Linked DNA regions of Homo sapiens: all the other regions are linked to region 6. The links are contacts of gene promoters, found by promoter capture Hi-C in blood cells and fetal thymus (Javierre and others, 2016). All regions are on one chromosome and are shown on one strand. The core of a region is centred on a gene start or on the middle of the fragment in contact, and the rest is flanking DNA. Distances in the headings are between cores, read along the strand shown.

What was found. The method cuts DNA at HindIII sites, captures the fragments that hold promoters and counts their contacts. A CHiCAGO score of 5 or more calls a contact.
Region 1: a fragment that was not itself captured here is called in contact with the fragment with the promoter of WDR26 in region 6 in 4 of 17 cell types (naive B cells, total B cells, neutrophils and 1 more); the score reaches 8.7 in naive B cells.
Region 2: a fragment that was not itself captured here is called in contact with the fragment with the promoter of WDR26 in region 6 in 7 of 17 cell types (neutrophils, total B cells, total CD8 T cells and 4 more); the score reaches 9.3 in neutrophils.
Region 3: a contact is called between a fragment that was not itself captured here and the fragment with the promoter of WDR26 in region 6, in 2 of 17 cell types (total B cells and naive B cells). The highest score is 6.6, in total B cells.
Region 4: a fragment that was not itself captured here is called in contact with the fragment with the promoter of WDR26 in region 6 in 2 of 17 cell types (neutrophils and erythroblasts); the score reaches 6.1 in neutrophils.
Region 5: a contact is called between a fragment that was not itself captured here and the fragment with the promoter of WDR26 in region 6, in 2 of 17 cell types (naive B cells and monocytes). The highest score is 6.6, in naive B cells.
Region 7: a fragment that was not itself captured here is called in contact with the fragment with the promoter of WDR26 in region 6 in 2 of 17 cell types (monocytes and total B cells); the score reaches 6.3 in monocytes.

What each region holds. Positions count from the first base shown.
Region 1 is chr1:223,820,943-223,824,373 of GRCh38, reverse strand. It overlaps TP53BP2 (tumor protein p53 binding protein 2), which reads left to right. Exons shown (of 18, transcript NM_001031685.3): 2 at 3,007-3,154. Among named protein-coding and RNA genes, the nearest start is that of TP53BP2, 23 kb to the left of the region's middle. The HindIII fragment of the contact is 2,946 bases long and covers 496-3,431 here.
Region 2 is chr1:223,792,144-223,795,965 of GRCh38, reverse strand. It overlaps TP53BP2 (tumor protein p53 binding protein 2), which reads left to right. Exons shown (of 18, transcript NM_001031685.3): 13 at 1-151; 14 at 2,526-2,663; 15 at 3,444-3,577. Among named protein-coding and RNA genes, the nearest start is that of TP53BP2, 52 kb to the left of the region's middle. The HindIII fragment of the contact is 3,013 bases long and covers 855-3,822 here.
Region 3 is chr1:223,706,187-223,709,721 of GRCh38, reverse strand. It overlaps LOC105373281 (a long non-coding RNA gene), which reads left to right and starts at 2,072. Exons shown (of 3, transcript XR_949164.2): 1 at 2,072-2,354. It also overlaps a transcript of CAPN2 not described here. RefSeq lists enhancers at 1,364-1,863, 1,864-3,063. The HindIII fragment of the contact is 175 bases long and covers 1,761-1,935 here.
Region 4 is chr1:225,422,421-225,426,039 of GRCh38, reverse strand. LBR (lamin B receptor) reads left to right here. Exons shown (of 14, transcript NM_002296.4): 2 at 1,951-2,129. The coding sequence starts at 1,965. Among named protein-coding and RNA genes, the nearest start is that of LBR, 3.8 kb to the left of the region's middle. The HindIII fragment of the contact is 4,429 bases long and covers 1-3,619 here.
Region 5 is chr1:223,726,886-223,730,650 of GRCh38, reverse strand. The region is part of intron 2 of CAPN2 (calpain 2); the gene reads right to left. Among named protein-coding and RNA genes, the nearest start is that of CAPN2, 16 kb to the right of the region's middle. RefSeq lists an enhancer at 2,500-3,160. The HindIII fragment of the contact is 2,486 bases long and covers 396-2,881 here.
Region 6 is chr1:224,433,545-224,437,449 of GRCh38, reverse strand. It overlaps WDR26 (WD repeat domain 26), which reads left to right and starts at 2,653. Exons shown (of 14, transcript NM_001379403.1): 1 at 2,653-3,766. The coding sequence starts at 3,045. It also overlaps a transcript of CNIH3 not described here. RefSeq lists an enhancer at 1,745-1,934 and a silencer at 2,275-2,674. The HindIII fragment of the contact is 13,558 bases long and covers 1-3,905 here.
Region 7 is chr1:223,771,340-223,774,683 of GRCh38, reverse strand. CAPN2 (calpain 2) reads right to left here. Exons shown (of 21, transcript NM_001748.5): 19 at 2,759-2,875; 20 at 2,445-2,503. LOC105373041 (a long non-coding RNA gene) reads left to right here. Exons shown (of 2, transcript XR_949167.3): 1 at 1-416; 2 at 1,598-1,973. Among named protein-coding and RNA genes, the nearest start is that of CAPN2, 60 kb to the right of the region's middle. RefSeq lists an enhancer at 1,784-2,439. The HindIII fragment of the contact is 3,472 bases long and covers 1-3,243 here.

The DNA.
Region 1 (3,431 bases), core at 719-3,218, 610 kb after region 6:
CAACTCGTACACTTACTGTTCATACCAGTGTTAAACCTGTGGGAAAAGTAACCATAAATAGAACACATCTGTCATCATTCTTATTTTTAATTGTACTTTTAAATAAATGAAGCTGTTGGTTTTCCAGAAAGTAAAAGATCAGATCTCTGTTAAAGTGTGGGTAACTGTGGTTAAATGGAGCATTTCCTAGTATTTTCTTTCTATAAAGGACAGCTTAAAGAATAGAGGATAGATCAGAAAAACAGAATTGTACCTTTCTCATTTCAGTAGGCAAATAGATCACTTATCTGAGTCTTTTTCTTCATTTATAAAGAGAAAATAACACCTGCTGTTTATCTGAGAGTTGATGTAAGTTTCTGAGATAATGTGTCTGAAAGATGAAGTTTACAGAGGTAAGGTGCTATCTTACATAATAGGCTTTTATTTGTTGATAAGGTGTGTGTTTAGCATATACTCTGTATTTCCAGTATTTCTGTAACTTAACACCTCTAAGCTTCATATTTACAATGAAAAGTTACTATTTTCAAAGTGATAAACTTCAAAGCAAGTTTTTGCATCGGTAGGGAGTATGGAGAGGGAGTATTTAATGCTAAAGTGTACATTATTTGTCTCCATCACTGAATATGCTGTATACTTTGGGAGCAGCAGACGAGTGTACTTCTGTGCTTTGTTAATCGTTTTATTTTTTCAATGATTTAGTCAAGGCTTTATGATTTTTGTGTAATAATTTTGAGTGCTGCCTTGTTGGCTAAGTTGAACTCTAGAACTGTGTACCTTTATGTAGTCAAAATGTGAAAAGCCTGAGATAATTAGCTTGAGAGCTTTTGAGCTCATACTGGGAAAGTCTACAGTGTTTTTTTATTTTTCCATTAAAAAATTGTTTCAACAGTGTTCACTATTTTAATTTTTCTGGATTACCCTCTGTTATACCTGTTCATGTGAGTTAACAGCTTTGGTTGCAGAATGTGGAGGCTTGGACTGGCTTGAGTGCAAGGGTCCGCTCTTTCTCTCATGTATATCTCCTCTTTCTCTGACCAATTCTTGAGGCACCGAGTCTGATGTCTTAGCCAGTTTCCATCATCATCCCTAATCCGGTGCTGCCTTTTCCCAAGCAACATCTTAATGCAGCTTTCTCCACTTGGGGGTAATGGGCAGAGACATTTAAGTTGGAAGGGGAGTTGTGTGACTGTTGGTAGGCCCTCCAATTGCTGTGTGATGTCCTCCTGTCATTGTGGTCATAGGGTATATCCTACTTATTCTGCTTTTTTGCAGTCTTAAAACCCAAACTTTTCCCAGTGCTTAGCATAGTTTCATTAATGATTTTAAAAGACTAAACTTGTCCCTCAAGTTTATGTTCCATAGGTTATGCATTCTCTTTCTTTGATTGGAATTATTTTCACAGGATGTATTCTCACTGTGAGGTAACGCTTTCAAATTATTATTTTTTAATCCTGATACATACTGACTTGCATGGAGTTACTCATTGAATTGAATAAACATAGAGCCTTACTAATTTGCATCACTGTCGAAAACTTGTTTCCTGTTTCACTTCGTTTCTTCAGCATTGGAAATTAACAAGATTTTTTTTTTTGTAATTTAATAGGTGTGAAAAATTTAATTCTTTAGTAGCAGTGTTTCTAAGATACAGTGTCTTTTTTTACTAGGAGAAAGATTGTCAAGATTGTTAGGTTTTTTTGTTGTTTTTTTTTTTTTGAGTCAGGGTCTCACCCAGGCTGGAGTGCAGTGGTGCAGTCACTTCTCACTACAGCTGCGACCTCCTGGACTCAAGCAGTCTTCCCCACTCAGCCTTCCAAGTAGCAGGGACCACAGGCATGTGCCACCATGTCTGGCTGATTTTCTTTTAATTTTTGGTAGAAACGGAGTGTTGCTTCGTTGCCCAGACTGGTCTTAAACTCCTGGACTCACATGATCTTCCCGCCTTGGCCTCCCAAAGTGTTGGGATTACAGGTGTAGGCCACTACACCCAGCCTATTAGTGAGTTTTAAATGTAAACCTTCTGTTGGTCTCAGTGTTTATATACAAGGTCAGGTAGGTGTTAACATAACAGCTACTCATTTCTACTTATACTTTGTTAATGAAATCTTGTACTTCAAAGTAGGTATTTAATTTGCTTAAAACATTTTAGAAGTACAATTTTTTGGCCGGGCGCAGTGGCTCACGCCTGTAATCCCAGCACTTTGGGAGGCCGAGGTGGGTGGATCACCTGAAGTCAGGAGTTTGAAACCAGCCTGGCCAACATAATGAAACCCCGTCTCTACTAAAAATACAAAAATTAGCCAGATGTGGCATGGCGTGGTGTGGTGTGATATGGCATGCGCCTGTAATCCCAGCTACTCGGGAGGCTGAGACAGGAGAATCACTTGAACTCGGGAGGCGGATGTTGCAGTGAGCCGAGATCATGCCACTGTGCTCCAGCCTGGGAGATGGAGTGAGACTCTGTCTCCAAAAAAAAAAAAAGTACAATTTTTTGAATAGGTAATATATGTACATTATATAAAGATTAGGTTTATACAGAGCTGCCCCACAAGCTCTGTTCCCTCCTGCTTCCACTTCAGAAGCAGCGTGTTACATTCTTACGTGTCCTTCCAAAAAAGAGACTGTGCATAAATAAGTATATATGGATGAGGTTGTCGCATCAACCTTTACAGGATTGACAGGAAGATATATTTGTAGTATGGGTCCAGCATATATAAGTATTTGGCAAACAACATGAATAAAACTGGCAAAAACAGATTTAATTTGAACTGATGTGACTGTATTCTAGGGTCACCAAGGGTTCTAGAGCTACTGCCCCATGGTAGGGGCTGGGCTCCAGGTCTCCCTCAACCCCCAGTCCACACCTCACCTTTGGCCGGGTGACAGCCAGACTGTTCTGTTGTACGTTTGCACTTCCAACTGAGATTTTGTTTGGAGAAAGGAATTTAAGGTGAATACCACATTAGGCAGACAGTACCAGTAACCATGTGTTTCTCTCTTAATTTTTAGATGTTTCTTACCGTGTATCTCAGTAACAATGAGCAGCACTTCACAGAAGTTCCAGTTACTCCAGAAACAATATGCAGAGACGTGGTGGATCTGTGCAAAGAACCCGGCGAGAGTGATTGCCATTTGGCTGAAGTGTGGTGTGGCTCTGGTGAGAGACGCTGACAGCCTCGTGCTTTAGTTCTTCTGTCTTCTATTAATGTTGGTTTGTAGACGTGGCACTGTGTGAATGCTCATGTTTCTCCGGGGAGAAACTGGAGAATAGCACGTCCGGCAGAAATAGTGTTCCTGATCCAGCTTTGGTATGATACATGAAGTCTTTTTCGGTTTTCTTTTTCTCCAATAAAATGGAGACACCACAATATAAAATACAAAAGGTCATCTGGGCTGTTGTGGTCCAGTGGATGGTGCTCAACAGTGTCTTTGTA
Region 2 (3,822 bases), core at 1,112-3,611, 640 kb after region 6:
TCCAGAGGCTCCACATGTGCTTGATGTGTACCTGGAGGAGTACCCTCCATACCCACCCCCACCATACCCATCTGGGGAGCCTGAAGGGCCCGGAGAAGACTCGGTGAGCATGCGCCCGCCTGAAATCACCGGGCAGGTCTCTCTGCCTCCTGTAAGTAATGTACTATCTCATAGCCTTTTCCGGAGTCCTTTACTTTGTTACGATTTTCTTGGTGGTCACATTCATCTTCTCCAGTTTGCATTTTTATTTTACGATTCCCTTGGCACAGAGTGGATCTTATAAATGTTTTCATAATGCAGTTTATTCAATATAAAGAACATTTTTCTGTTTTAGAGAGAACCCATTTATTTGTGAAAGAAACAGAGTTTTGTTCTTATCCCTATAAACACTGCATTTGCTGTTTCTTCTCTAGCTGATGTGACATATTAGGGAAGCAGCACCCGACTGGGACTCAAAAGACCTGGGTTTGAAACTTTTGATTACTAGCTTAGCTGTGTGAAATCAGGCAGATGGTATAACTTCTCTCATTGATGATGTCAATCTTTTTAAAAATTTTCTAGCAGTGAAATTTTAAAAAATGAAATGTTAGGTGAAACCTCAAACTTACAACAGTGGTAAAATTGGAAGGGTTCTGGATGGAGTGAGGGCAGGGAGGGGTAACTGGGCTGAGGGGCCCCTCTTCAGCCTCTTCCTCCCCTTCAACGAAGTCTGAAAATCTCTGGCTAATATGGTGATCCCTAAGATTTCTTTGTACTTTAACATACGAAAGTTATTCTAAGATTTTGTATGTTTTGGCTTGAGTGCACCTTCTACACTCCTTCCAGATAGTAAGCTTTTGTTTGAAATTTAAGCTTCCATCCTCTCACTTTGACATAGGTGAGAGAAAATAAAAATCCCAGAATGTCTGAATGAAGTCTGCTTTTTCATAGTTTAATTTGAAGCCACTTTGCTTCAGTAAGCACGGAAGGAAGTAGGATGCTGAACTATGAATTTAAAACCTGGTGAAAAGCAAAATAGCATTAAAAGAATTTTTTTAAATGTACTTTGCATGTTTGATTCCTTATTATCTTTTAGATATGATAGTATTCAAAGATAATAATTGTCCACAGTTATTTTTAACAATTGGTTACAGTAAATGTTTGCTTAAAAGTTTTATGTACTAAACATTTGAAGCTAGAAAAAAAAGTTTTAAAATAGAGGTTAACAGTTTTTAAACAACCCTGTGCCTCGTAAGTTCTGAGGCTTGATTCTCTTTGAGTTTTAAACATAAGAAAAGAAGGACGTTTTATTCCACATTGGCCAAAACCAATCCACGTTACAGCCACTTGTTATTTTCTGGCCTTTTTGTTGCTGTGTCAAAATAATCCACATTTTCAAGGAGAAAAAAGGAAAACTAGAATTGGTAAAAGTATTATACTTTCTTTTTAAGATTCTGCTGTTCTCTTCCTAGGAAGGTGTCTTACCTTTTCCTTCTCGATTTAAGTAAAATAGAAGCAACTATCTCGTACATTCTTTAACAGTGGGATCGGCAAGTGTCATTACACTGTACTGCTTATGACTTGTATTAACCACAGTCAGATAACATTCAGAGAGCAACATTTTAGTCATTGCACATTGTGAAATGTATTGTCGCTTAATGTTTTTTAAAACTTGGCAATTTTCCACATCTGAGATAAAATGAAAGAATTATGTGGAGTACATATATCACACCTCACAACAGTAAACGTCTCTACTTTGTTGGGTGTGTTTAAGAAACCTGTTTTACAGGATACTGGATCTAGTCTTTAAAATTTTGCCTTTTTTTTTTTAAGTCCGATTCATTAAAAGTTTAAGCTGGTAGGATTTATCCTTGTTATACCTAAGACAGACTAATAATCTGTATTATTTACCTTAATTATATGCTTTCCCCCGAGGAGGCATTCTGGTGTGAAATGGTTAAGATGGCAGACTTTAAAGAAGCCAGCTTACCTGGATTTGCGTCCCAGCTCTGCCATTTGCCGGCTGTGTGCCTTGGTTTCCTTATCTGTAAACTAGGGATCATAGGGTTTTTGTGAGGGTTAATGAATAATCATTCAATATAGGTTAGCTGTTGTAGTTGTGGGCTGTGCTGTTGCTCACTTTAAGAGAGTGGAGTTTGCTGTACTGTATTAGATAGGCAGTCTAAAGACCAGTCTTGGCTAATTCTGATACTTGACAGAACGCTAGCCTATTTGCCACTTCTGATTATACTCTTAGTTTAATTCATACTATAACATATAACCCAAACGTAATTATGTTAGATTTTATAAAGTTATGTTCCTCCAACTTTGCTCCATGGTATTTGTTCACTTTGTGAAAGTTCATTACGCTGCATGTCAGATTCGTATACTTTTCTGAATAATGTTATACTTCAATAAAATGTGCCAAATCTATATTGTTAAAGTGCCTCTCACTAATTTAGGTGAGAAGTCATTCCTTCCCATTTGCTGCTGTTGTTCTCTTGCATAGACGAGGATCCTAAATTTTCCACCCATTTTCTTTGCAGGGTAAAAGGACAAACTTGCGTAAAACTGGCTCAGAGCGTATCGCTCATGGAATGAGGGTGAAATTCAACCCCCTTGCTTTACTGCTAGATTCGTCTTTGGAGGGAGAATTTGACCTTGTACAGAGAATTATTTATGAGGTATGATTATAATTAGTAAATTTTTTTTTTTGAGTCAGAGTCTCGCTCTGTCATCCAGGCTAGAGTATAATTAGTAAATTTTTAAAATATGACCTTGTATTTTGTTTTAAAGCTCTAATTAGAAAGCGACTGTAGAGAAATTGTATTTTAAAATTGTTTTCCTTTTAGGCATTGTGGGGTTGTGTTCAGGAACTCTTGGGCACGCTTTAGAATAGGCTATGCTGTTTTAAAGGTATGACTATGGAATTGTCATCATTTGGAAGTTCGGTTTTCACTTGGAGTCCTCTAGAGTACTTTTCTTTCTTAAGAGAGATCATTACTCCCCTTTAGAAATTGTTCATGTATGGATTTGTACTATACTGTATTAGGTTAGAGATGCGGTCTCTACTTTTAGAAGCCTACTATTTAAAATATTTTTAGTTGACCTTTTTTTTTTTTTGCTTTCCATAGCAAATGCAACTTCTACTTAGAAACTAATTTGTGGTGAGAAGCTGGGAGGATAAATAAACAAAAATGACTATAAGGATATAGTTTCTGGTACTTCCTTTTTTTAAAAAAAACCTTTTTATAGTGACTGCCTACTTAATGTGGTTTTTCTGTCTGTCTTATTTCTAGAATTGTTCTTGGTATAGTTTTCTTGGCTCCTATAGGTTTTAATTATGATTTTTAAAAGTGTCACAAGAGTCCATTTCTGTCCTCTTGACCCTAAAGGAGCCAGTTAGTAGTGACAGTTCAGGTGACAAGAAACTAGAGTGATGCTCACCCTTCTTCTTGATATAGGTTGATGACCCAAGCCTCCCCAATGATGAAGGCATCACGGCTCTTCACAATGCTGTGTGTGCAGGCCACACAGAAATCGTTAAGTTCCTGGTACAGTTTGGTGTAAATGTAAATGCTGCTGATAGTGATGGATGGTAAGATTTTCTTTTAAACTCCAGTCAAACTTCAGTTGTGGGAATCGGTTTATAAGCAGTTGTCATAGTGCTGTTGGAAGACAAAGAAGTATGTCAGTTATGTCCTTGAGCTGCTTGTAATCTAGCTGGAGAAATGTGGTATCTATTTTTGAGGAATTAACATGTGTTCATGTAACAGTCATCTCATTCCCATCCTGGAAGTAGGTGGAGTTTTAAAAAGTTTAGTAGTTAATGATAAAAATAAG
Region 3 (3,535 bases), core at 599-3,098, 730 kb after region 6:
GTTATAACATCCACCAGATTGCCTCGTTTAATCAAGTTAAATGGACTCTTTTTTTTTTTTGAGATGGAGTTTCACTCTTGTTGGCCCAGGCTGGAGTGCAATGGCACAATTTCGGCTCACCACAACCTCCACCTCCCAGGTTCAAGTGATTCTCCTATCTCAGCCTCCCGAGTAGTTGGGATTACAGGTGCCTGCCACCATGCCTGGCTAATTTTGTATTTTTAGTAGGGACAGGGTTTCTCCACGTTGGCTAGGCTGGTCTCGAACTCCTGACCTCAGGTGATCTGCCCACCTCTGCCTCCCAAAGTGCTGGGATTACAGGTGTGAGCCACTGCACCCTGCCGAAATGGAATCTTTAAAATGTGTTTATTTTATACTAATATGAGAGCCATGATGTTACCTTTTCTTAAAGCAAGTATTTTTGTCACTATTATTCCTCTGCCCCCATCTATTCTTGTCTCTGACACCCATTGCTTACCCCCTTTGCTTGACAAAACTTTGGTCAGACTTCTCTCTTTCCTACAGATCCCTGAATGCTGCTTGCCCCCAAGCCTGAACAAGCACAAACAAAGTGGAGTGTCCCTGCCAAGTCACTTCCCTGCCCAGCTTCTCCTGGGAATTGACTGAACACAGCAAGACCCTTTTCCTGTCAGCTCCCACTGGTCATTTCCCCTCACTTGTCCAGCTTCCCCTCCCAAGAGTCTGCTTATCTCCACTTGCTCCTCCTTTACCCTAGAAAAGAAGAATCTTTTTCTGTTTGATTTTGAGCTGCTTGCAGATTCTCTGAATTGGAATTGTCTTTCTCTCTTTTTTTTTCTTTTCTCTTCTCTTTTCTTTCTTTTCCTTCCTTCCTTCTCTTTTTCTCTATTTTTTCTTTCTTTCTCCCTCCCTTCTTCCCTTCCTCTCCTTCTCTCCTTCTCTCTTTCTCTCTCTCTCTCTCTTTCGCTCTTTCTTTCTTGTTTCACTCTTGTTGCCCAGGCTGGAGTGCAGTGGTGCAATCTCCACTCACTGCAACCTTCGCCTCCCGGGTGCAAGTGATTCTCCTGCCTCAGCCTCCTGAGTAGCTGGGATTACAGGTACCAGCCGCCATGTGCAGCTAATTTTTTTGTATTTTTAGTAGAGACGGGGTTTCCTCATGTTGGCCAGGCTGGTCTTGAACTCCTGACCTCAGGTGATCCACCTGCTTTGGCCTCCCAAAGTGCTAGGATTACAGGTGTGAGCCACTGCGCCTGGCCTGCAATAGTCTTTCTTTCTATTGAAGTGTCCCTTTATAAAAGTCTGGATTTTTTTTTTTTTTTAAACAGAGTTTCACTCTTGTTGCCCGGGCTGGAGTGCAATGGCGCGATCTTGGCTCATTGCAACCTCCGCCTCCCGGTTCAAGTGATTCTCCTGCCTCAGTCTCCCATGGTTTTGTTTTTATTTGACATCCTCCATCTCTGGTTTGCAAGTCTGGGCATGCTGCCTGATGGGCAGGTACCACCGTCCACCACCAGGCTTTGCTTTCTTTACTCTTGAATAAGGCGGGGACACAGGTTCCATTGTGTAATGGTTGGCACTCTGGACTCTGAGTCCAGAGATGGGGATACAGGCATTCATTTCTAGCTCATGGGTTTCTGGTGCAAGGGTTTCATGAAGCCATCACAATTGAAAACAGAGGAAAGCGACAGCCCTGTCCTGGAAGCTGTTCATTTGTTCCACTGTCTGATTTCCATTGGCCCCACCCCGACTTCTTCTGGGCTCGAGGCTCTTGGGAGAAAGCTTGTCCTTCTGCCCAGTGGGGCAGAGCGCAGGCTTCTCCTCCCACTGATCTCCTCAAGGACAGCTCATCTCTGGAGGAAGTGACTCCTCCCAGGCAGGTGGAGGTCATTTCCCTCCTAAGTCATTTTAGCAACAAATGGGCAGATCAGACCTATCATTCCAGTCAACTCAGAAGCTTTGCACAGCCTGGGAGCAGAAGAGCCTCCTGGCTCACCTGAAGTTCCTCTTCCCCAGCTAGGCAACACCCTCTTTGGTGCAGCCCTGGCCACTCCCCTTGCCAGCCTTCTAGGGATCGCTGCGCACATAGAGCTCTGCTTACAAAGGGCTTTAGGCTGTCCTATGCCACCCAAATTTAATTGCAAACACATACAATGACTACTTTCCCCAACCATTTGGACAAAGTCTAGTTTTTAAACCTGAGTTAATGTTGCTTTTTCTACTTCCCAAAGCCTCTCACACTATGCTATCTCACTGACCCAGCAAAGTCTTCTCTTTCTCTGACCACACAATCCTTTTCACGGGAACACAAGGACATAGACAAACACTTCATGGTGGAAAACCTTCCTGGAGTGAGTCAGCCAGCCCTGAGGATGGTGGTGAGTCAGAAACAGCTGGGATTATCCAGAACTGCCTGGGTCTGGGCCACTGACCTTGTGAGTAAATGAGAGAGGGAGTGAGAGAGAGAGATAGAAAGAGAGAGAGAGAGAAGAAGAGAGAGAGAGAGAGAAAATAAGAGAATAAGAATGTGTGTGTCTCAGAGGGCCATGGCAATGGAATCTTTTTCAGTAGTATTTTTCTTTAGATTATTTTCTCCCTGGCCCTGGATGTTTGAGATGCATCAGAGGCACAATCTGCAGGTTCTGGATTTTTTTTTTTTTTTTTTTGAGGTGGAGTCTCACTCTGTCACCCAGGCTGGAGTGCAGTGGCGTGATCTCGGCTCACTGCAACCTCCGCCTCCCGGGTTCAAGCAATTCTCCTGCCTCAGCCTCTTGAGTAGCTGGGATTACAGGGGCTCACTGCCATGCCCAGCTAATTTTTGTATTTTTAATAGAGACGGGGTTTCGCCATGTTGTCCAGGCTGGTCTTGAACTCCTGACCTCAGGTGATCCACCCATCTCGGCCTCCCAAAGCGCTGAGATTACAGATGTGAGCCACCGTGCCTAGCCAGGTTCTGGAGATACTAACCAAAGCTTCCTTTTTAATTTTGCACCTCCACGTGTCAGTCTCAGTTTTTATTTGACATATTTGTGCACTTTACACATATTTGTGCACTTAATCTTCACAGCCAGTCAAGGGAGATCTTATCTCCTCATTTAATGGATGAGTAAACAGAGGCCCAGCAGAGCAGCTGACATGTTGTGTTGTAGAGCCAGCCTGGCTGCCAACACCTAGACCATGGTCCCTTGGGGTCTGTCCATACCCAGTGTAGGAGGGCAGAGGGAACGGCAGGCCCAGGCAGAGGAAAAGAACCTGTTTTCTTCCCCTCCCTCTTTCAGGTCCGTGATTTGAATCCAAAGGAGATCACAGAGAATATGAATTCCACAGGGCTGCAAAAAACGGTTTCATTTGAAAAGAGATTTCTTTCTCTTCTGAAGCAGCTGCAGGGTTTATTCTTTCCTCATAGCTGTAGCATGAGTATTGGACAGGCCTGTTAGATGCCACTCAGGAGGGAGGGGGCTTCTGGAGGGATTCCAAGAGCTGAAGAGGCATGGAAAGGCTTCTCCCTGGTGTTGCAAAAGATGGGACGTGCTGACAGTAGAAGGAGAGAGGGAAACTC
Region 4 (3,619 bases), core at 930-3,429, 990 kb before region 6:
TTGTTTAACCCAGAATAATTGATAAGAATCTTTTTGGCACTGGCCTGCGTTTATATTACACAGATACTGTGTATGTGGTGTGTAAGTGCAATGGAAAGATGCCAGTAAATAAGTTTTTAAGAACACGCAGAAACTGTTCAAGGGTCTTTTAAAACCTCAAGTAGCCCCTGCGTCCTGAAGGGCTTGTGTTTCAAAAGTTTATAAAGAGTTTTTTGCAACTTGAGCATCTTCCTGTAGGAAGACATAATTGCCTTCTTTTAACTCTGGCTGACCAGTGTAGGAGAGCTAGTACTAGTAAGAGTGGTTTGATTTTGGGGGGCCTAGGGAGGAGGAGGGGGCTCAAGAGAAGAGAGAAGGAGGGTACATTTCCTTCCTCTTTCTTTGTACTTGGAGGCTCTGAGCTAAATGTTGAAATAGGCAAAGCTGGATGTTGTCACCTTCCGTTTTTATGCCCCTGCTCATGCAGAGGTGTTCACTGCCCCCCTGCTCCCTAAGTGCCCCTCGGGTGACTCAGCCAGGCCTGACTTCATCCCGAAAACTTGTGGGCTCCTCCCCACTACTCCAAGCCCAAACCCATTCATTACCCCAGTGATGCCCAATCTCAGGTAGGTGTAGGGAAGAAAGCTGCCTCTCTTACCTAATGTGTTAATTGACTGACATCCTCTAATCACCAGATAAGTACTTGTGTTTTCTTTCATCTACCAACCTAGCTGCCATCTCTGTAAACTAGTAGAGCTTGTTAAGTTTTTTCACAGACGATTAACAGTGAAAAAATGTGGTGGTTAAGAAAGGCCTCCCTCACCCCGCCTCCCCCCCCACTCTCCCACTACTCCCTTGGGGTAGGTAATTCAACTTTCTCCTTAATTCCAGAGTCTTCAAAGGTTCCTAAATGTTGCTTTTATTGTATCATCAGCTCTTAACAGGAGCCAGTGAGGAATGTACATTGATAGGCTTGGACAATACATCAAGAAGTGCTTAGTTGGTGAAATGAAGGTGATTTGGGAGACAGCTCATATCTGTCCTACTGGCTGCCCCTTGGACGTGGCCCCAGCTAGTTCATGTGGTACTGGGGAAGGTCGGCAGCCCTGGTTTTGTTGTGTGGAAATGTGATTCCGCTGGTCAGCCGATGGAGCGGCATTACTGTCTGGCAGCTGGAAGTACCCAGCTATCAATTGATATTTCAAAAAGGGTGGCAGACAGGCCTCACGTAAGTGGCAGTTCTTGCAGATTGCTTGTGGATTCCTAGAGTATTGTGGGGCTTGTGGGCCATGTTTTGAATCAGAGGAAAAGAATGTTATAATTGGGGGTTGATGGCTGCTGTAGGCTTGAGAGAAGTGAGCTTGGATGAAGGCAACCACCCTGGCTTAGGTGGGTGGTTGGCAGAGTTACTTGGTATGCATTTGTACTTTAGCTGTAAGAGTTGAAAGCTAAATAACCCCCAAATTTATTCATTACAGACTTGGAATTATTTTTCTTCCTATTGTTGGGTTATAGTCATGTTAATTGTACATCCTTGATTTTCCCAGTCTGGTTTATAGTTTGCTGTTTTTAATAAAGGCAATTTGTTAAAAATACAATTAAATGCATTTTTAAAGCCATTGTAAATTGATACGCAAATTTACAAATGAGAAAATGTGTTCTTTGTGAGATTGTGCCTCATTTTTTGATTAGCGAGAACTGTGATCACGGTAGGTGGGTAACATTTTACATAGTGTGAACTTATGGCGCCTATATACATTGTTATAATTAATCTTTAGTGTCACATAGATAACGCAGTGGCTAAATCATCCTCTCAAATGATTCCAAATGAGATTGAATGTAGCCTTTCTGGCCCTAAAATCCTGACCAGTCAATTCTGGAAAGTTGTATTTTAGTGATCAGCCTGTGGAAAAAGACGAATACATAAATGTGTATGTATTGACTCAAATTTTTTTCTTTAAAACTATTCAGGTTAATTATAGAAAATGCCAAGTAGGAAATTTGCCGATGGTGAAGTGGTAAGAGGTCGATGGCCTGGGAGTTCACTTTATTATGAAGTAGAAATTCTGAGCCACGACAGCACCTCCCAGCTTTACACTGTGAAGTATAAAGATGGAACAGAGCTTGAATTGAAAGAGAATGATATTAAGGTAAGAGCTCCTTTGGTTTATCAGAGTGTGTTTACAGTAAGTGGGAAATAACTCTAAGTATGGTTTCTAAGCTCAGGATAGTCAGTTCAGCTCGGTTTGAAGGCAGAGGATTGAGCTCTTGCTTTGGGTCACATACTGTTTTTGGCTCTGGGAATGTATGAATGAGGCATAGTCCTTGTTCCCAAGAAGCTCACACTTACTGGGAAAGACAGCCATTTGCATCTGTTGGTCCCCTGGGTTTACTACGTTCTGTGTCTGGAGTTTGCTGTGGGTGGTGTTGAGTGTATCAAGGGTAGAGAAGAGCCCTGGGCTTCAGGGGAGGCTTTCAGAGGCAGTGACACCTAGCCAAGTGCTGAGAACAAACAGGAAAAACAGCAGTTGATGGGGCTGTTTCTGCAGAGAGGGCAGTATGCCAAAGTCAGGGGTCTGGGGGACACAGTCAGCCAAGTGCTGGAAGGGGGTGGTAGGGGAGGGCTAAGCAGGAGCCAGGCTGGGGGGGCTTTTATATTCCATGCCCAAGGGTTTGGGCTTCATCCTGAACACCAAGGATTTAATCAGGAGAGTGACATTAATTAGATTCGAGTCTAGCCCAGGGCTTTTCAACCTGTCTGGTGAGGGCCTGGGTTTTAAGATATCTGATCCGTAGTATACAAACATTTATATAAAATGCCATAAAAATGAGTTACTAGAAAAATAAAGACATACACAATAGACGACTCACAGTTTTACTATCAGATTCGATAGATATGAGATTACTTTGTCAAAATGCTATAAACATTTCCATACACCTATTTCTCAATTTTGGTACTTGCACAGATTAGTAACGAGCATTTCTAGGACCCATGGCTGAGGATGACACTTCGAGTGCTCTAGACCAGGAATAAAGCACAGAAAGTAAATATTTTAGACTTTATGGGAGCGGCTCCAGGCAGTATGGAAGGGAGCAGACATGGCAGTGTTCCAGTACAACTTTATGGACAGTGAAATTTGAATTTTGGATAATTTTCACACTTCAGGAAATACTGTTCTTTTGATTTTGTTTGTAATCATTTAAGAATGTAAAAGCCATTCTTAGTAGGAAGGCCACACAAAAATTGGGGTGAGGGACTTGGCCTGGGGCGTAATTTGTCTACATCCCTAGAAGCAACATAAGGAGATTCGGAGTAGGTGGGGACACAGTGAAACAGTTCCCAGTCATCCAAGCTCATGTTTTATTTTCAAGATCTGCTTATGTGTTTTGTTCAGAGTGAAACTGTGGTACTGTTTTTTTTTTTTTGGTCTGTGTGCTTATTTATTTTGTCCTGTCGTCTCAGTTTTAATCCATGTTAATTATTACCCTTCTTGCATATGGTGTTGGAAATAAGTACAGCTAATTGGTTTAGATACATTCGTTTCATGGAAATACCTTCAAAGAACAGGAATGGAAAGGCTGCATTTGTCTCATGAAAGATGGATCATTATGAAAGCATTTTCCATTGGCTTCATCTGAT
Region 5 (3,765 bases), core at 389-2,888, 710 kb after region 6:
AGATCTTAAGACTCACAAAACAGACTCTTCCTAGCAATAAGATACCAAATTCCAACCACACTCTAGTAGAGCATCACATGACAGATAGCAGGCCCTGAAAGAAATCAAAGTATTTTAGCCCAAAATATATTTTTCTGACAGATTTTGAAATGTCTCTGAAAGCTGTCTCTTGTGGGAAAATCTACATTCTATAGCAGGGGTGTCCAATCTTTTGGCTTCCCTGGGCCACACTGGAAGAAGAAGAATTGTCTTGGGCCACACATAAAATACACTGACACTAATGATAGATGATGAGCTAAAAAAAAAAAAAATCTCATAATATTTTGAGAAAGTTCACAAATTTGTGTTGGGCCACATTCAAAGCCATCCTGGGCAGCACGAGGGTTGGACAAGCTTGATGTAGAGAATCACCTTCCCTTCAGGTCTTTTTCTGATCCTGAAGAGATTAGCTGAGCATCTAGTAGCACCTTTTAAAGGTCTGAATAGAAAACATTTGCCATCTATTGCCTTTGAGAGTGGCCCTCTGTGAGACTTCATCTACATAATAAAAACCTTGGTCTCTAACAACTTCTTATCTCAACCCAGGCACACTTTTCAACTGATTTCAGGTTTTCGTTTTTTTTTTTTTTTTTTTTTTTTTGGTTTTTTGGGAGCGAGTCTTGCTCTTGTCTCCTAGGCTGGAGTGCAGTGGTGCAATCCTGGCTCACTGCAACCTTCACTTTCTGGGTTCAAGCGATTCTCCTGCCTCAGCCTCTGAGTAGCTGGGACTACAGGCATACACCGCCATGCCCAGTTAATTTTTGCATTTTTAGTAGAGGCGAGGTTTCACCATGTTGGCCAGGCCAGGCTCGAACTCCTGACCTCAGGTGATCCACCCGCCTTGGCCTCCCAAAGTGCTGGAATTACAGGTGTGAGCCACCGCACCCGGCCTTGATTCCAGGTCTTTAGATAGTAACTTAATGCTTTCAATTAACTGCCAATCAGAAAAATCTCTGAATCCACCTGTGACTCGGAGCCCCCTCCAGCCCCTGTGCCTTCCCCATCCACTTCAAGTTGTCCCGCCTTTCTGGATTGATGTCTGCCTGTAACTTATGTCCTCCTAAAATGTATAAAACCAAGCTGTAAACCAACCACCTTGGGCACAGGTTCTCAGGACCTCCTTGGGCTTTGTCACAGGCTTTGGTCACTCATATTTGGCTCAGAATAAACTCTTTAAATATTTCACAGAATTTGACTATTTTGTTGACACTGCCTAACACCATAGCTTAGCCTAGCCTACCTTAATTGTGCTCAGAACACTTACAGTAGCCTACAGTTGGGCAAAATTATCTAAGGAGGCAAAGCCTGTTTTAAAATAAAATGCTGAACAACTCAATGTAATTTATTGAATACTGTACTGAAAGTGAAAAACAGAATGGTTGTATGGGTACTTCAAGTACAGTTTCTACTAAATGTGTATTGCTTTCATGCCATTGTAAAGCTGAAAAATTGCATGTCAAGCCATTACAATTCTGGGGCCACCTGTAGGCATCCTGAGCCAGACTCCAGGTGAGAACTGAGGCCCGCCTTGGAGTAATGGGGGAATAGAAGAAAATGGCGGCTTGGTGATGAGTTAAGGACCGAGAATGGAGGGACTGGTTGGACACAGAAAGGGAAGAACCTTGTATAGAGAAGGGATTGTGTTTTGCTTTTGTCTTTTTTGCTGAAGTCTCAGCCCACTGCTCTTCCTATAACAGATGCCCAGTAAAGCTGGCTGAATGGAAGCAGAAAGGCAGTTGCTGGCTTGTGCAAGTCAGGGCTCCTGAGCCCCATGGGCATCTCAGAACGCTTGGGGGTGAGTGGAGTCCTGAAGCTGGCACATCAGCCCAGCTTGTGAAGTCCTTCACTACTGTGTACCTTGGGAAGTCCCAGAAAACACATCCTCCCCACCCCGCAAACCATGAAGAGCTAATGTCCAAGCAGCTTGGGTTATTACTGGTAAAGGACAAGAAGGCCATTATTCAAAGGGGAGGAATCGTGGTGTCTTCCAAAAATGGTGGCAACAATGTTTCTGGTTTCACATGTTCTTCCAGAACCCTGCCACTCTCCATCTAGAAGTGGGCTCCATGTCCCTTCTCTTTGATCCTGGGTGAGCCTTCATTGATCTCAATGAATAGGATATGGCAGAAGTGATGCTATGTGACTTCCAAGCCTAGGTCGTAAAGATGAGACAGCTCCCAGGTCTTTCTCTTGGGACATGAGCTGCTGTAAGATGTTCAGCTACCTTCAAGTCCCTGTGATGGGGAGACCACAAAAGAGACAGAGATCCCTGGACCCCTGCTGATCCACCCTTCAGCCCGGGCACCAGACATGTGGTTGAGGGGGCCTACAGATGACTCTGTCCCCATCCCCATCTGATTGCAACCACTTGAGAGAGCGGGAGAGAGTTGCCCAGCTCAGCCCCGTCATCCTTCAGAACCATGAGAGAGAACAAAATGCCTTGTGTTTCAAGCCATTTGTTTTGGGGTGGATTGTTACACACTAGATACAGGTGTGACAAAACAGGGAGCTTGTGCTTGGGAGTCTGAACTGTAACGCATACCAGGGAGCCAGGGATAGTAAGATACACCTGCTAACAGAGTCTCCCACCTGGGGGTGCCAGCAAGAGAATGGAGCCAACACTGAGAAATGCCAGTGTCAGGCCACCCAGCTGCTCTGCAGTTCCCAAGGTACCCTGGACCTGAGATGTTCCCACTGTCTCCCTGCTGATGTGTGGTTTGGAAAGGCACCTGAGCTAGGAAGCTGAGCAGACGGAATGGCCTGCCAGTGGAACCATTCTCCAAGAAGCAGGGAGGGCCCTTCTCCTCCTTTGCTGTGTTCCTCCCAATGCTAGTGGGAAGCTTGAAGCTCCCCTCCCACAGGCTCAAATATCCCAGCAATGCTGCCCTGACCCCGTACATGCAATGTTTTCTCCTTTCCTACAGTATTTACTCATACTTGCGGCTGGATTAGATTGAAGCAATGCTGGAAAGAATATTTAGTTTGTCTTCAGCAACTCACCTACTGATTACCACTGCTATTCCTACCTCCCATCCGGCCACTCCCTTGCACCAGGCTCCCCAAATGGCATTCTGTGTGCCCAGTGACCCCCACAGTACCTCCCCCTTCACTCCTGCTCTGCCAGTGGTTCTCAACTGGGGGCATTCCATGCACCCCCCAACTCCGCCAAGCCCCCAGGGGACATTTGGCAAGGTCTGCAGACATTTTTGAGTGGCACACGGGGGTGTGTGGGTAGAGGCCAAGGATGCAGCTAAACATCCTATAATTCACAGGACAGCCCCCTACAATGAACAATTATCCAGTCAGTTGTGCCAAGGTTGAGAAACCCTGATGGATCTCAAATCGTACCTGTTTTGCGTTATATTTCTTTAGACCTTTTGTTCTTTTGTTTTGCATGCTGACAGCTAGATACACGATAAACAGACCAAGCTACTGAAGACTGCTCCTGGCTAAATTTCACCCTTCCTGAGACAACAGCATTTTAACAATCTCCAGCAGACCTGACACCCTGTCCCAGAGAGACACATCTCTCAAGGTCCTAGGCAGCCCAAGAAGGCGGAGAGCCACATTTTCAGGCAGCTGTGGGTCTTCGCTTTGGAAGGGAGGAGAAGGAACCTCTGAAAAGCCAATTCAGGGCCATCCCTCTGAAACTGGCAGGGAGGGGCTTCTCTAGAGGAAATGCACACCCCGCCAGCGTGCTAGGCCTGCGAGAGGGTAGCTGATGAG
Region 6 (3,905 bases), core at 1,404-3,903:
CTCGATATTTGATTCTACAGCATCCCTGAAAAAAGGTGAGAAATGTGAAAAAGGCTTGTTTGCTATTTCAAGGACAAGAAGTTACCTCTTATTTGGAACCTAACACAAGATGGGTCAAATAGAGACCCGTTTTTAACAGGTCTCTATTTAAAACAGTACAGAAGCAAATACAAATGAATCAAGTATCAAAATACACACTTGATTTCTTTTTTCTAAAAGATAACTTGGACCTTTGTTCCTAAACCCATCTTAGTCCTTTTTAGGAGGAGGGTGAAAAGGGGAAGGTAAATCAGGGGGACAGAGGTCTAGAAAGCCTTCTCTCTGATGACCTGAAGAAGGGGTCTTAGCAAGTTACATCACAAGCAGCCTTCGTGATTGAGGAGCCTAATAAATGACACCCACAATGACGGCTAGGAGAGTGGAAGTCAGGAAAGGCTCCCCTGAGGAGGTTTGAAATGAGCTGAGTCTTGAAAGACTGACTGGCATCAGACAGGTGAAGAAAAGACGGGAGAGTGTAGTCAAAGACTCTCAAGGAGAAATGAGCCAGTACATTTGGCGGACAGTAGACAGGTCCCTGAAGAGGAGCAATAAGAGATGAAGCCAAAAAGAAAGACTGAAAGCAACCTGTGGTGAGCAAGACAGAATTTGGATTTTATTCTGTAGGTAATGTGGTGTTACTGAAGGTTCCTCAGTGTGTAGAGTGGTATTTCAGAATTGTTCATCTGCACATAGACCTGAAACTTGGCTTTAGAAAGACCTAAAGACCCAGAGTTCAGATAACAGATTCTCAAGCTGTGTTTTAGTACAGAGAAAAATGTTCTGTAAGGGACTTTATAAATTCAGAATTCTAACACGAGCAGTGTTGGTTACCTAAAAATTAGAAAAACTGGAATATAGAGTTTAGATAGCAATGGAATCCAATTTATTTTTCATCATTTTACTTTTGTTAATGAAGTGTGAGCTTTGTCTGTAGCTGCCATGAAGTGACTGATTTCCTTTATAAAACCTACAGTCTTTATTCAGAAGCAAGTCTTCAATGTTGCTATGGGCCTAATAAATTATTATAAACCATTTTGCAAAAATTAAATTTTGCCTAAACAACACTTTTAATAATAAGGTTGTCTAAAGTTAATATACAAACAGGGCTCTCTGAGGGTGTTAACTATCTAGTAATTCAGGCTCTGCTGGATACAGTGACAGAGCTCTATGAACCTCAACTAGAACTCAGGTCGGCCTCAGGTGAATATAAACACTGTATGTGAGTCACCTTGCAATTACAGCTGCCACCTGGAAGCAAATTTAAGCAGTAAGAACTACAAAACCAAATCCCTGTAAGATCCTGCATTGACCTTCCTCTTACTTCTTCCTGTCTGAGGATCCATAAACCTCAGGATTCTTTACTAATTTCTCATCAGCATCATTTTTTATTGTATTTCCAAATTTAAAAACAACTGTCTCCAAAGGCCTCAAAATTACTTTCAGTTATTACTATAATAAATATCAGCGATGTATGATGTATTAATTAGAAACTAAGGTGTTTTTTTTCCCCTCCCCACAGGAAAACTACTTCAGAGAAAGACTTTAAATTTCTGAGAAAATCTTTATACATATTGAGTATAGATGCTATCAACCACATACATGAAAATAATTGTTTGGGGATAATGCACACCATTTGCCAATGATTAAGATTCAGCCCAGTCTTTGTTGCTGCATTTCTACATTCACATAAATTGGTAAGTCATGATGACACAGAAGGCTCACATGCCACGTAAAAATTTCAAGCCTGGATCTGAATGGGTGCCTGAATCCTTCTCAGAATGCATATTTTGGAGGCAACTGTTTGGTTTATGTTACTGCTCCCTAAACTGGGCAGTGACTCAAGAGGCAGCTGGAAGAGAGAAGGAGGTGCTGGGCAAGTGCTAAAAAAGAGTGAAGCCTCAACAGCAGAGTCCCTCCCCTTCTCTACACACCACACAGCCTTTTTGTGACTTCTTGTCCCCATAAGATATGCTCCTCTAGACTAACTCCCCTTCCCAGGGTGGAGCAGAGTCTCACCGGCTCATTATCTCACAGCTCCCGGGATGGCCCCGGGTACAGCAACTGTGTGGCACTTGGCTGTGGAAATTCAAGTTTTTCCACCCTAAAACAAGTAGGTTGTGAAACCCGATTTCGGTCCTGGTTACCATTGAGAGGGGCCTACCACAGCCCTGTGCCTGGAAGTTCCTGCCTGTCGAAGCTCCTAGCCCCCTGCCCCATCCTCACCTTCTGCACCTGATGGAGAAGGTGCAGTCCCTCCGCGCACCTTACATGCCCATGCCACACTGGTGGACTCACGCACGCACGCCAACTCTGCCATCCCATGCACGCCCGGCTTCGGAGGGCGGCTACGAACTTACTGCTCGTCGAGCCAGCCGAGCCAGGGCGCAAGGGGAAAGGCCCGAGCGGGGCCGGGGATAGGATCGGATAGGAGTCGGGGTCGTGGATGGGGTCGGGGCGGACCCCGCCGGCCCGCTGGCCTCCCTCCCCTGACCCCCGGGACAGCCCCCGATGCACGTGCTGGGTGACAGGCCCCCTATAGGTTCCATACCTGCCACCGGAAGTGAGTGAGGAGGGCAGTATAGGCATTTCCTGTGACGCGAGCGCCTGGACTCCATTAGGCAGCAGCTGGGGGAAGAATCAACACACCAGGGAGCAGAGCGGAGCGGATCCGAGGACAGAGGCGGCAGCTGCCTCCGCTGCCGCCCGCCGCCGCCGCCGCCGCAGCCACTGCCGGGGCTCAGCCCAGCGGCGGGCCCCGCGCCCCCGCAGCCGCCCCGCGGCGCCCCCCGGCGCGACCCCCGGGCCGCGCACCCCGAGCTGCCTCCGGGAGGGGGGGGGGAAAGGGCCCGGATCCTCCTTCTCCCCCTCCTCCTCCTCCCCCTCCTCTCACCCTCACCCTCACCCTCCTACCCTGACCCCCTCCCCGCCTCCCCGGCCCCCCTCACCCCGACCCTCTCCCCGGCCCCCGCCTCCCCTCCCCCGCCTCGCCCCACCGGCTTCCCACCACGGCCTCTCTCGGCGAGGAAACTCTGGCCTCCGCTTCCTCCTCCTCCGACTCGGACACCGGCGGAGCCTCCCCGCCCCCGCGGAAGAAACCCCGAGCCTCGGCGGCGGAGGGAGTAGGAGAGCCCGGGGCTTCGGCAGGCAGAGCAGGCCTCTCCCCTCCGTCCTCGTCGTCCTCGTCCTCCTCCTCCTCCTCCTCCTCCGTGGTGGTAGTGGTGGGACTTCCCCCGGCTGCTGCCCCTCCCGCCGCCGCTGCTGTCCCCCACCGAAGTAGCGGCCACAGCCTGGTCAGCGGCAGCATCATGCAGGCCAATGGGGCAGGAGGAGGAGGAGGAGGTGGCGGCGGCGGCGGTGGAGGAGGAGGGGGCGGCGGGGGCCAGGGACAGACCCCGGAACTCGCCTGCTTGTCGGCCCAGAACGGGGAGTCGTCCCCCTCGTCGTCGTCGTCCGCGGGGGACCTGGCCCACGCCAATGGGCTCCTGCCTTCCGCCCCCTCCGCCGCCAGCAACAATAGCAACAGCCTGAATGTCAATAACGGGGTTCCCGGCGGGGCGGCCGCCGCATCCTCAGCCACCGTCGCAGCTGCCTCCGCCACCACCGCCGCCTCCTCTTCCTTGGCCACCCCAGAACTGGGCAGCAGCCTCAAGAAGAAGAAGCGGCTCTCCCAGTCAGATGAGGATGTCATTAGGCTAATAGGACAGCACTTGAATGGCTTAGGGCTCAAGTAAGTATCCCTTACCGCCAGCTGGTGATGGACAGACCGAGGGACGGAGGCTCCAGGGGGGTAGGGGAAGGGGCGGAGGGGGGAGGGGGGCTTGAAAGAGCTCGGTCAAAGAGAATGAGTGCTGGGCACGCAGGACCCA
Region 7 (3,344 bases), core at 258-2,757, 660 kb after region 6:
GATTTCTAGAGTCTAGCTTTTAACAGGTCAGTAGTCTGTGTGATTTGCATTAAGTGGCCATGAATCATATTACAGGGTTGATTGCACACATGAAAAGTGAAATTCACACAACAGAAATTAGCATTTTCACATCTCTGCCTCAGAGTATCACATCAGAAGTTAGTTTGGGATGTGGATATCCCTGCAACCAATGGTGTTCAGCATTGGTTCTAAGTTGTAGTGATACGGAAACTTTAAATCAGATTGATTCAACTGGTCTGGGATACAGACAGGACACCAGCACTTTGGCAAAGCTCCCCATGTGATGGAATCTGCAGCCAAGGTTGAAATCCCTGCAGACTGAACGGAGAGCTTCTGAACATGGCTCATCCTTGCAAAGACTACGAGAAGCGAGGATCTCCAGGAACCTGCAAAAGGTAAGGCTTAGGAGTGGCAGGAAAAGCCAGTGGGTAAGAAGATGCTTCTCGGAGGAGATGCGGAGGGAGTGGACTGAGCAGGCAGGCCAGGTGGACCCTGGAGTGGGGGTGGGTGGCTGGGGTAGAATAGGATATCCAGCAAGAATGACAGGCTAGGATTTCCAGAACTTAACATGTGGCATGTTTCGTGTCACAGTTGTGTTGACTCTACTATTTATTTCATTTTAAATTTTTTGAGACAGGGCCTTGCTCTGTCACCCAAGATGGAATGTAGTGGGGAGATCATGGCTCACTGCGGCCTTGACTTCTGGGCTCAGGTGTTCCTCCCACCTTAGCCTCCTGGGTAGCTGGGTCTACAGGCACGCACCACCATGCCTGGCTCATTTTTTTATTTTTTATTTATTTTTTTCTGAGACAGGGTTTTGCTCTTGTTGCCTAGGCTGGAGTGCAGTGGCACCATCTCAGTTCACTGCAACCTCTACCTCCTAGGTTCATGTGATTCTCCTGCCTCAGCCTCCAGAGTAACGTATTTACAGGCACCTGCCACCACGCCCAGCTAATTTTTTTTTTAGATGCAGTTTTGCTCTTGTTGCCCAGGCTGGATGGAGTACAATGGTGCAATCTCAGCTCGCCGCAACCTCCGCCTCCCGGGTTCAAGCAATCCTTTCGCTTCAGCCTCCCGAGTAGCTGGGATTAACAGGCATGTGTCACCACGCCTGGCTAATTTTGTATTTTTAGTAGAGATGGGGTTTCTCCATGTTACTCAGGCTGGTCTCGAACTCCCAACCTCAGGTGATTCGCCCGCCTTGGCCTCCCAAAGTGCTAGGATTATAGATGTGAGCCACCGCGCCCAGCCCTAATTTTTGTATTTTCAGTAGAGACGCGGTTTCACCATGTTGGCCAGGCTGGTCTTGAGCTCCTGACCTCAGGTGATCCACCTGCCTTGGCCTCCCAAAGTGATGGGATTACAGGCATGAACCACTGCGGCCAGCCTAATTTTTTATTTTTTTAGAGATGGGGTTGACTCTACATTGCAATCTAGGGGTAGAGATATTTCCTAGGATATGTAAAGTTTTAAGCAAGTTAGTGTTATTTGTAACCAGATAGACTATATTTTCACTTTGCTAATACAATGCATAATAGCAGAATGAGACAGTTATTTAGTTGCTGCCTTCCTCCAGAGTTCAAAATCCATGGAAAAGAGCTGCCAGTGCCTTAGACCTGCCCTCCTCACCACTTCACTCCTCTGTTACACGGACAGGACTGACAACTGCCATTCTCACCCAGTGTCAGCCACTTCGCCCGGCCCTCTGTGGCCTTCCCTGAGTATAGAGGAAATGCTGACTGGAGCCAGGTGATAATGGAAGTATACCCCACCTGGCTTCTTTCTTTCAGTGAGAGAACTTCCTGTCATTGGGATGACACGAGAACATTTTACGCTTTGCTTTTTGTGAAATTAGCATACCCACTTAATTCAGATTGATGATCATTTCAGAGATGTGTATTGCTAGGGTTCCAGACACATGAGTGCAATAACAATAATAAATGGCAAACGTATTTACTAGTATTGGTTTTATCTTAAACGGGGAGGGAGTAGAGAAAACTAATTTGCTTAAAGTATTTTAAGTAGATCCACTCTAAGAATGATGGATCTTCCCAAAACCCAACTTGAATTTCAGCTGAAGGATTTCTTTATATAAACATGTTCTCCCTTGCATGCTAATCAGGAGTTCATTTTTCTAAGCATGATCCTGCAGCCACTCCTTAGTTTAACCTTGAGCTACACTCAAGTCAAAGCTCATGAGAAGAGGGAGCCAGGCGTGCATTTTGGACTTGAGAATAGGTGGTTGGAAAACAACTGCAAGTAAAAGTGCATTGTGGGATCTTACAACCGGTTACAGGCCTGGCCCCGACAGACCAAGAGCTCTTTAAAGCAAAACTTGAAAAAGCAGATCACTCAAGTAACAGCCCTTTCCGCCCCATGCCTCCCCCATCCCCTTAGAAGCAAGGCGGGGCCTGCTGACTCACAGAGATAAGGTCGAGCTCTATTGTTCCAGTATTCTCGGGATCCAGCTGCTTAAATATCTCTGTGGAGGGAGAAAAAGAGGGTGTCACAAGTGAGTGAGCTGAAACAGATCACATTATCCTCTTTTCAGTTCAGCAACTGACTTCACTGACCACCATACATGCTTTCTTCCTCACCCTCAAATTAGTAAAGAGGGAATTTCATTCTCAACTCCTGGAAGACATGTCTCTAGTTTAGATGATTTCACCGAGGTGAAAGGCAGGCCACTTTAATACCAAGAGAACTGAAATGAGTCATTCCCCAAATATCCACTTACTGAATAGCGTTTCCAGCCGAACCAAACACCGAACAAAATTATCAAAATCGATGATGAGCTGGTCATCTGCAAACCGAGCAACGATGACTTGGTGGAGTTGACAGGGCATCTTGAAACCTGAAGTTACATGAACAAACAAACTCATTGCTAAGCATTAGATTGTTCCATTTAGCTGCGCTCACAGGCTATGAAACTAATGTGGTGATTTAAATGAGGTATAATTGCTTTTGTCCCTTGGCTGCTCTTCTGTGAGACTGGTTTGATTTTGCAAAGCCAGTACCTTCTGCTGTTTCTTTTGTTTTTGAACTGTCCACCTTCACCCTGCCTGTGTCCTTTGCTGACACATAAGTGTTTTCTTGCCTGTTTCTGTTCTCATGGTCACAGTTGCTTCATGTTGTTAACCATGCTGCTGCTGTTTGATTTTTTGTTTAGCTCTCAATCGTCTTGAAGATCAGATTCTTCCTGGATATATGTGAGCAGAAGCTTTCCTGGTAAACTCATAGTAGTTCTCTCTCCTTCCAGAGTAAAATAATTTTTATTGAGCCTATGGCCACCTAGCATCAAGACTGCATGTCCCAGCTTCCTT